Regions from separate parts of the Homo sapiens genome. Here region 2 is linked to region 1. The links are contacts of gene promoters, found by promoter capture Hi-C in blood cells and fetal thymus (Javierre and others, 2016). All regions are on one chromosome and are shown on one strand. Each heading gives the region's core, a stretch centred on a gene start or on the middle of the fragment in contact. The rest is flanking DNA. Distances are from core to core; before and after follow the strand shown. Region 1 holds the start of SLC52A1 (solute carrier family 52 member 1). Region 2 holds the start of ZMYND15 (zinc finger MYND-type containing 15).

What was found. Contacts are between HindIII fragments. The CHiCAGO score rates a contact against its expected background, and 5 or more counts as called.
Region 2: the fragment with the promoter of ZMYND15 here is called in contact with the fragment with the promoter of SLC52A1 in region 1 in 5 of 17 cell types (erythroblasts, total B cells, naive B cells and 2 more); the score reaches 8.2 in erythroblasts.

The regions. Positions count from the first base shown.
Region 1 is chr17:5,034,005-5,037,002 of GRCh38, reverse strand. It overlaps SLC52A1 (solute carrier family 52 member 1), which reads left to right and starts at 1,577. Exons shown (of 5, transcript NM_017986.4): 1 at 1,577-2,142; 2 at 2,290-2,526; 3 at 2,645-2,998. The coding sequence starts at 2,397. The region is part of intron 3 of LOC105371501 (a long non-coding RNA gene); the gene reads right to left. The HindIII fragment of the contact is 18,376 bases long and covers 1-2,998 here.
Region 2 is chr17:4,738,509-4,741,512 of GRCh38, reverse strand. It overlaps ZMYND15 (zinc finger MYND-type containing 15), which reads right to left and starts at 1,680. Exons shown (of 14, transcript NM_001136046.3): 1 at 1,463-1,680; 2 at 373-994. The coding sequence starts at 964. It overlaps CXCL16 (C-X-C motif chemokine ligand 16), which reads left to right and starts at 1,585. Exons shown (of 6, transcript NM_001386809.1): 1 at 1,585-2,252; 2 at 2,593-2,731. The coding sequence starts at 2,174. RefSeq lists a silencer at 1,494-1,713 and enhancers at 1,262-2,166, 2,167-3,004. The HindIII fragment of the contact is 8,207 bases long and covers 1-3,004 here.

The DNA.
Region 1 (2,998 bases), core at 328-2,827:
CATTTAAAAATGTAAAAACAGCTGGACGTGGTGGCATGTGCTTGTAGTCCCAGCTGCTCAGGAGGCTGAGGTGGGAGGATCCTTGAGCCCAGGTATTTGAGGCTGCAGTGAGCTGTGATTGTGCTACTGCACTTCCTTTTGAGGAAGACACTTTCTCAAAAATAGTAATAAAAATAAATAAATAAATATGTGAAAACCTGTCTTAGCTAGCAGGCCATACAAAAATGGGTAGTAGGTCAGGGTAATCCCTGAGATGGTCAGTGAGTAAACAAGTACAAAATATCATTAAAGGGCCAGACATGGTGGCTCACGCCTGTAATCCCAGCACTTTGGGAGGCTGAGGCGGGCGGATCACCTGAGGTCAGGAGTTCGAGACGAGCCTGGCCAATATGGTGAAACCCCATCTCTACGAAAAATACAAAAATTATCCAGGCGTGGTGGCAGGCGTCTGTAATCCCAGCTACTCGGGAGTCTGAGGCAGGAGAATGGCGTGAACCTGGAAGGTGGAGCTTGCAGTGAGCCGAGATCGCGCCACTGCACTCCAGCCTGGGCGACAGAGCGAGACTCCGTCTCAAAAAAAAAAAAAAAAAAAAAAAAAAGCAAAAATTAGCCAGGTGTGCACACCACGTCCAGCTAATTTTTTTTCAACCATTTAAAAGTGTAAAAACAGCTGGCCAGGCACGGTGGCTCACGCCTGTAATCCCCAACACTTTGGGAGGCCGGGGCAGGTGGATCACCTGAGGTCAGGAGTTCAAGACCAGCCTAGCTAACATGGCGAGACCCTGTGCACTAAAAAGACAAAAATTAGCAGGGCATGGTGGTGGGCGCCTGTAATTCCAGCTACTCGGGAGGCTGAGGCAGGAGAATGGCTTGAACCCGGGAGGCAGAGGCTCGTGCCATTGCACTCCAGCCTGGGCAACAAGAGCAAAACTCCGTCTCAAAAAAAAAAAAAAAAAAAAAAAGTGTAAAAACAGCTGAGCGTGGCGGTAGCTAGGTGTGGTGCGTCTGTAGTCCCAGCTACTTGGGAGGCTGAGGTAGGAAGATTGCTTGAGCCCAGGAGTGCCAAGCCAGCCTGAGCAACATAGTGAGACCTTGTCTCTACCAAAAAAAAAAAAAAAAAAAAAAAAAATTAGCTGGACATGGTGATGCTCGCCTGTGGTCCCAGCTACTTGTGGGGGGGTGGGGAGAGGCTGAGTGGGAGGATCCCTTGAGCTTGGGAGGTTGAGGCTGTAGTGAGCCGCGATCGCGCACCGCTGCGCTCTAGCCTGGGTGACAGAGTGAGACCCCGTCTCAAAATTAATTAATTAATTAAAACAACAAACAACAAAACCCCAGCTGTGTGGGCTCTGGGCTGGGCCGCCTCCCCGGCGGAGGGGGCTCCCTCTCAGGCAGACCGCCAGCCGCTGGGTCCGGGGACTGCCGGATCCGGAGGTGCGGGGACCCCTGCGCACCTGGCGGCTCCCGGGATGCCCCCCTGAGGCAGGCGGGAGGGCAGCACGGAGACGCCCCTCCGGGCAGAGCCCGCCCCAGCCACTCCCCTCTCCAACTCGACCTGCCTCAGCAAGTCCTGAGTGTCGCAAAAGCGCTAGGGTTGCAAGTGGCACCAGAGACGTGCCCTTGTCCCGGGGTCCATTTGAGGGTGAGCGTGTTGGTGCCGAGCTGTTTTTTTGTTTTGTTTTGTTTTGTTTTGTTTTTGAGACCGAATCTCGTTCTGTCGCCCAGGCTGGAATGCAGTGGTGTGATCTTGGCTCACTGCAACCTCCACCTTCCGGGTTCAAGTGAATCTCCTGCCTCAGCCTCCTGAGTAGCTGGGATTACTGGCACCCACCACCACGACCAGCTAATTTTTGTATTTTTAGTAGAGACGGGTTTTCACCATGTTGGCCAGGATGGTCTCAATCTCCTGACCTCAGGCGATCTGCCTTCCTCAGCTTCCCAAAGTGCTGGGATTACAGGTGTGAGCCACCGCACCCGGCCAGTGCTGAGCTGTTTTGACAACTTGGACCCCGGGTCCTCTGTGGGTAGGAAAATCAGCTCCCTCTTTGCTCCTCTGGGGCAGCTGCACCTCGGGCCAGCTTTCTGCCTGTCTGCCTGCCGGCACTGCTGGGTCGCTGTACCCAAACGCACAGCCGGTGCCCCGTGGTAAGTCCTGGCTCCCCACCTTCCCCGCCCGCCCCCGGCCACCTCTCCCTCCAGTTGCCCTGGTCTTAGCAGTCTGACCGACTTGTCTTCTGACTCCGGTTCTGTCCCACCAGCCTATTACCTGCCAGCCTGTCTGTTTCCCTCCAGCTAGAAGGTCTTCAGTTTCCAGAAGAACCAAAGCATCTTTGGACCTACCTAGGGAAGGACCTGCCTGTGACCTTTGCCCTGTCCTGGAGGGTCCAGCTTTGGGCTGAATGGCAGCACCCACGCTGGGCCGTCTGGTGCTGACCCACCTGCTGGTGGCCCTTTTTGGCATGGGCTCCTGGGCTGCTGTGAACGGGATCTGGGTGGAGCTGCCTGTGGTGGTAAAAGACCTTCCAGAGGGTGAGTGGGAGGGAGGTACAGGGAAGCGTGGGGCAGGTATGCCCAGAAAGGTGGCCTGTGGCAGCTCTTTGTCCCTTAGCCACTGTGCTCCTGACATGGCATCATTCCTTCCCTGCAGGTTGGAGCCTCCCCTCATACCTCTCTGTGGTTGTGGCGCTGGGAAACCTGGGTCTGCTGGTGGTGACCCTGTGGAGGCAGCTGGCCCCGGGCAAGGGCGAGCAGGTCCCCATCCAGGTGGTACAGGTGCTGAGTGTAGTGGGCACAGCCCTGCTGGCCCCTCTGTGGCACCACGTGGCCCCAGTGGCAGGGCAGCTCCACTCTGTGGCCTTCCTAACTCTGGCCTTGGTGTTGGCAATGGCCTGTTGTACCTCTAATGTCACTTTCCTGCCCTTCCTGAGCCACCTGCCACCTCCTTTCTTACGGTCTTTCTTCCTGGGTCAGGGTCTCAGTGCCCTACTCCCCTGTGTGCTGG
Region 2 (3,004 bases), core at 431-2,930, 300 kb after region 1:
CCAAACTCAAATACCTACGGGGCTAGGCAAGTAACCTCACTGAGTAAAGGGCTCTGGGTAGAGAGGGCACGCTCCTTCTAAAGGGGACAGCTGCTACAGAGGACCAGAATGCGCTGCCATGCAGAAATGTAGGCCCACTGTCAGAGCTTGAGATTTTTCTTGGGAATGTGTAAATCCAGACTTCTGGATACTTTTTTTCTTGCAATGTTTAAACATTAAATTAAAAAAAAAAACCCCACTGTGGGTCAATAAAAACACCTTTTCAGGCCAGATTGGCCTGAAGGCCAGCACTCAGAACTAGTGGCAGGGGAGGGCTTCCGAAGGGAGGATGGCTGGGCAAGGGGTAGGGCAGGGCCAGCCCTGGGTTCTTACCACTCCTCTGTCCCTTCCTCTTCTGGGGTCTTGTTTCGTTCTCCACCCTGTCCTCTCGGCAGCCATCCTTGCCACCTCCTGCCTCCCGGGCAGCCTCCTCTGACTCTCCTGGAGGGTTTGTTTCCTGGGGGGACTCCCTGCTGGTAGGGGCTAGCTCCCGGTCCTCCTCTGGTTCCACCTTCTCTGTGCTGCCTGCACCCCCGTCCTCTCTCTTCTCTTCTTCTTCATCTTCCTCCTCTTCCTCCTCCCCTTCCTCCCCATCCTCTAGGCTGACAAAGCTGATGTAGGGGCTCAGGTCTCGCAGGTGGAGTGGAGGGTTGTCTCCCAGGAGCCAGGCAGTCCCCAGGCCTGGTCCAGGACCTGGTTCTGCCCCTTGCCCCAGGCTGATGCCCACACTATGGTTGGGCAGGACATGGAGCACCCAAAGGGCAGGGTCCTGGGGTAGCCTTCTGATCTGGGCCTCCAGCTGCCGGCAGCGGCCCTCAAGGCTAGTCCCTACAGCTCCACGCTCTGCCACAAACTTTCGGAACCAGCCGAAGAGAAGGGCAGTGAAATCAAGGAACTCATCCCGGTATCCAGACACAAACTCCATGTCTTCAGCGGCACAGGGCCCCGGCCCAGACTGAGCAAAAGAAGGGATATATGGTGAGGGACAGGAGAGCAATGATGGAGTTTGGGGCTGGGTCACAAATTGAGGGAGAGGGTAGGTTTGAGAGTCACTTAGGGTTGGATCCGTGGATATGCTAGGAGCGGAGAAGAGGATTTTTCAGGGCTGAGGATGGGAGTTTAGGGAGGAAAATGGGGGCTGGACTTGAAAGTGGGTGACCAGGGTTGGAGAAGACTACTCAGGGATGAGATGGTATTTGGGGCTTAAAATTGGAGAGTTCACACCCTCAAAAGCAGAGTTTAAATTAAGGCTAGAGAGGAGAGAGGGCTAATCCTATCGGGAACGGTTTGGTGGGGAGGGAAGCATTTTGGATGCGTCTGTGGGGTATGGGAGTGGGAGCGAGGGGGTTCCCTGGGCTCGGATCTGCGTGGCGGGCAGCCCCGGTAGACCTAGCCCCTCCCGGCCGCCCCACTCCTCCGGTACCTGCAGCCGCCACCACTTTTCGAAGGTAAATACCTCGCGGTGGAGGGTGCGCGGGTGCGGTTGTGACGTCAGGGCTGCCCGAGCCCTCGCCGGCTCAGCGGGCGGCCACGCCCCCCGGGCTCGGTGCGTCCGCGGGTGGCTGCCCCGCAGGTGCGCGCGGCCGGGGCTGGCGGCGACTCTCTCCACCGGGCCGCCCGGGAGGCTCATGCAGCGCGGCTGGGTCCCGCGGCGCCCGGATCGGGGAAGTGAAAGTGCCTCGGAGGAGGAGGGCCGGTCCGGCAGTGCAGCCGCCTCACAGGTCGGCGGACGGGCCAGGCGGGCGGCCTCCTGAACCGAACCGAATCGGCTCCTCGGGCCGTCGTCCTCCCGCCCCTCCTCGCCCGCCGCCGGAGTTTTCTTTCGGTTTCTTCCAAGATTCCTGGCCTTCCCTCGACGGAGCCGGGCCCAGTGCGGGGGCGCAGGGCGCGGGAGCTCCACCTCCTCGGCTTTCCCTGCGTCCAGAGGCTGGCATGGCGCGGGCCGAGTACTGAGCGCACGGTCGGGGCACAGCAGGGCCGGGGGGTGCAGCTGGCTCGCGCCTCCTCTCCGGCCGCCGTCTCCTCCGGTCCCCGGCGAAAGCCATTGAGACACCAGCTGGACGTCACGCGCCGGAGCATGTCTGGGAGTCAGAGCGAGGTGGCTCCATCCCCGCAGAGTCCGCGGAGCCCCGAGATGGGACGGGACTTGCGGCCCGGGTCCCGCGTGCTCCTGCTCCTGCTTCTGCTCCTGCTGGTGTACCTGACTCAGCCAGGTTAGCCGGGGGCGGGGCAGGGGACCCAGATTCCCCTGTCACGGGAAGGGGGTGAGTTGGGGAGGGGACACGAGGCCCACGGAGTTGAGTGGATGAAGGCAGCGGGGACAAGAGGAAAGCCAGCCAGCCGCCTGGGGTTGGGGACAGAGGCCCGGGGACGCCTGGCTCCGGGCGGGATTATGGATGTTGTCGGGGGCGTGATGATGTGTGGGTTGAGCCTGGCGCTCTGACCCTGGGTCCACCGAGAGGCTGTCATGGGGCTGTGGATTGGATGCCAGGGAACAGCGGAGTGGGGACCCTGGGCCTGGGAATGGGTGCCGACCACCTCCGTCCCGCGCAGGCAATGGCAACGAGGGCAGCGTCACTGGAAGTTGTTATTGTGGTAAAAGAATTTCTTCCGACTCCCCGCCATCGGTTCAGTTCATGAATCGTCTCCGGAAACACCTGAGAGCTTACCATCGGTGTCTATACTACACGAGGTAATTTTACCTGCCTCTGCGAGGGCAGCGCCTGGGCGGCCCCTCCTTGCAGGTGCCTCCAGGACCCTCTCTGGTCCAGCCTGAACTCCTTCCCGGCTCACCGAGCCCCATCTCCGGGTTCCGTTTGCTCTCATTCCCCGAAACTTCATGACTCCGTCTCACCTACTGGGGAGTTTCCCAGTCCCAGGAGAAAGGGCTCTTTCTTGGTGGCAACTTCACGCCTCTGGAATGAGGAAGGAGCCGGGGAAGGAAAGAAGGCGCCGCAGCTAAGCC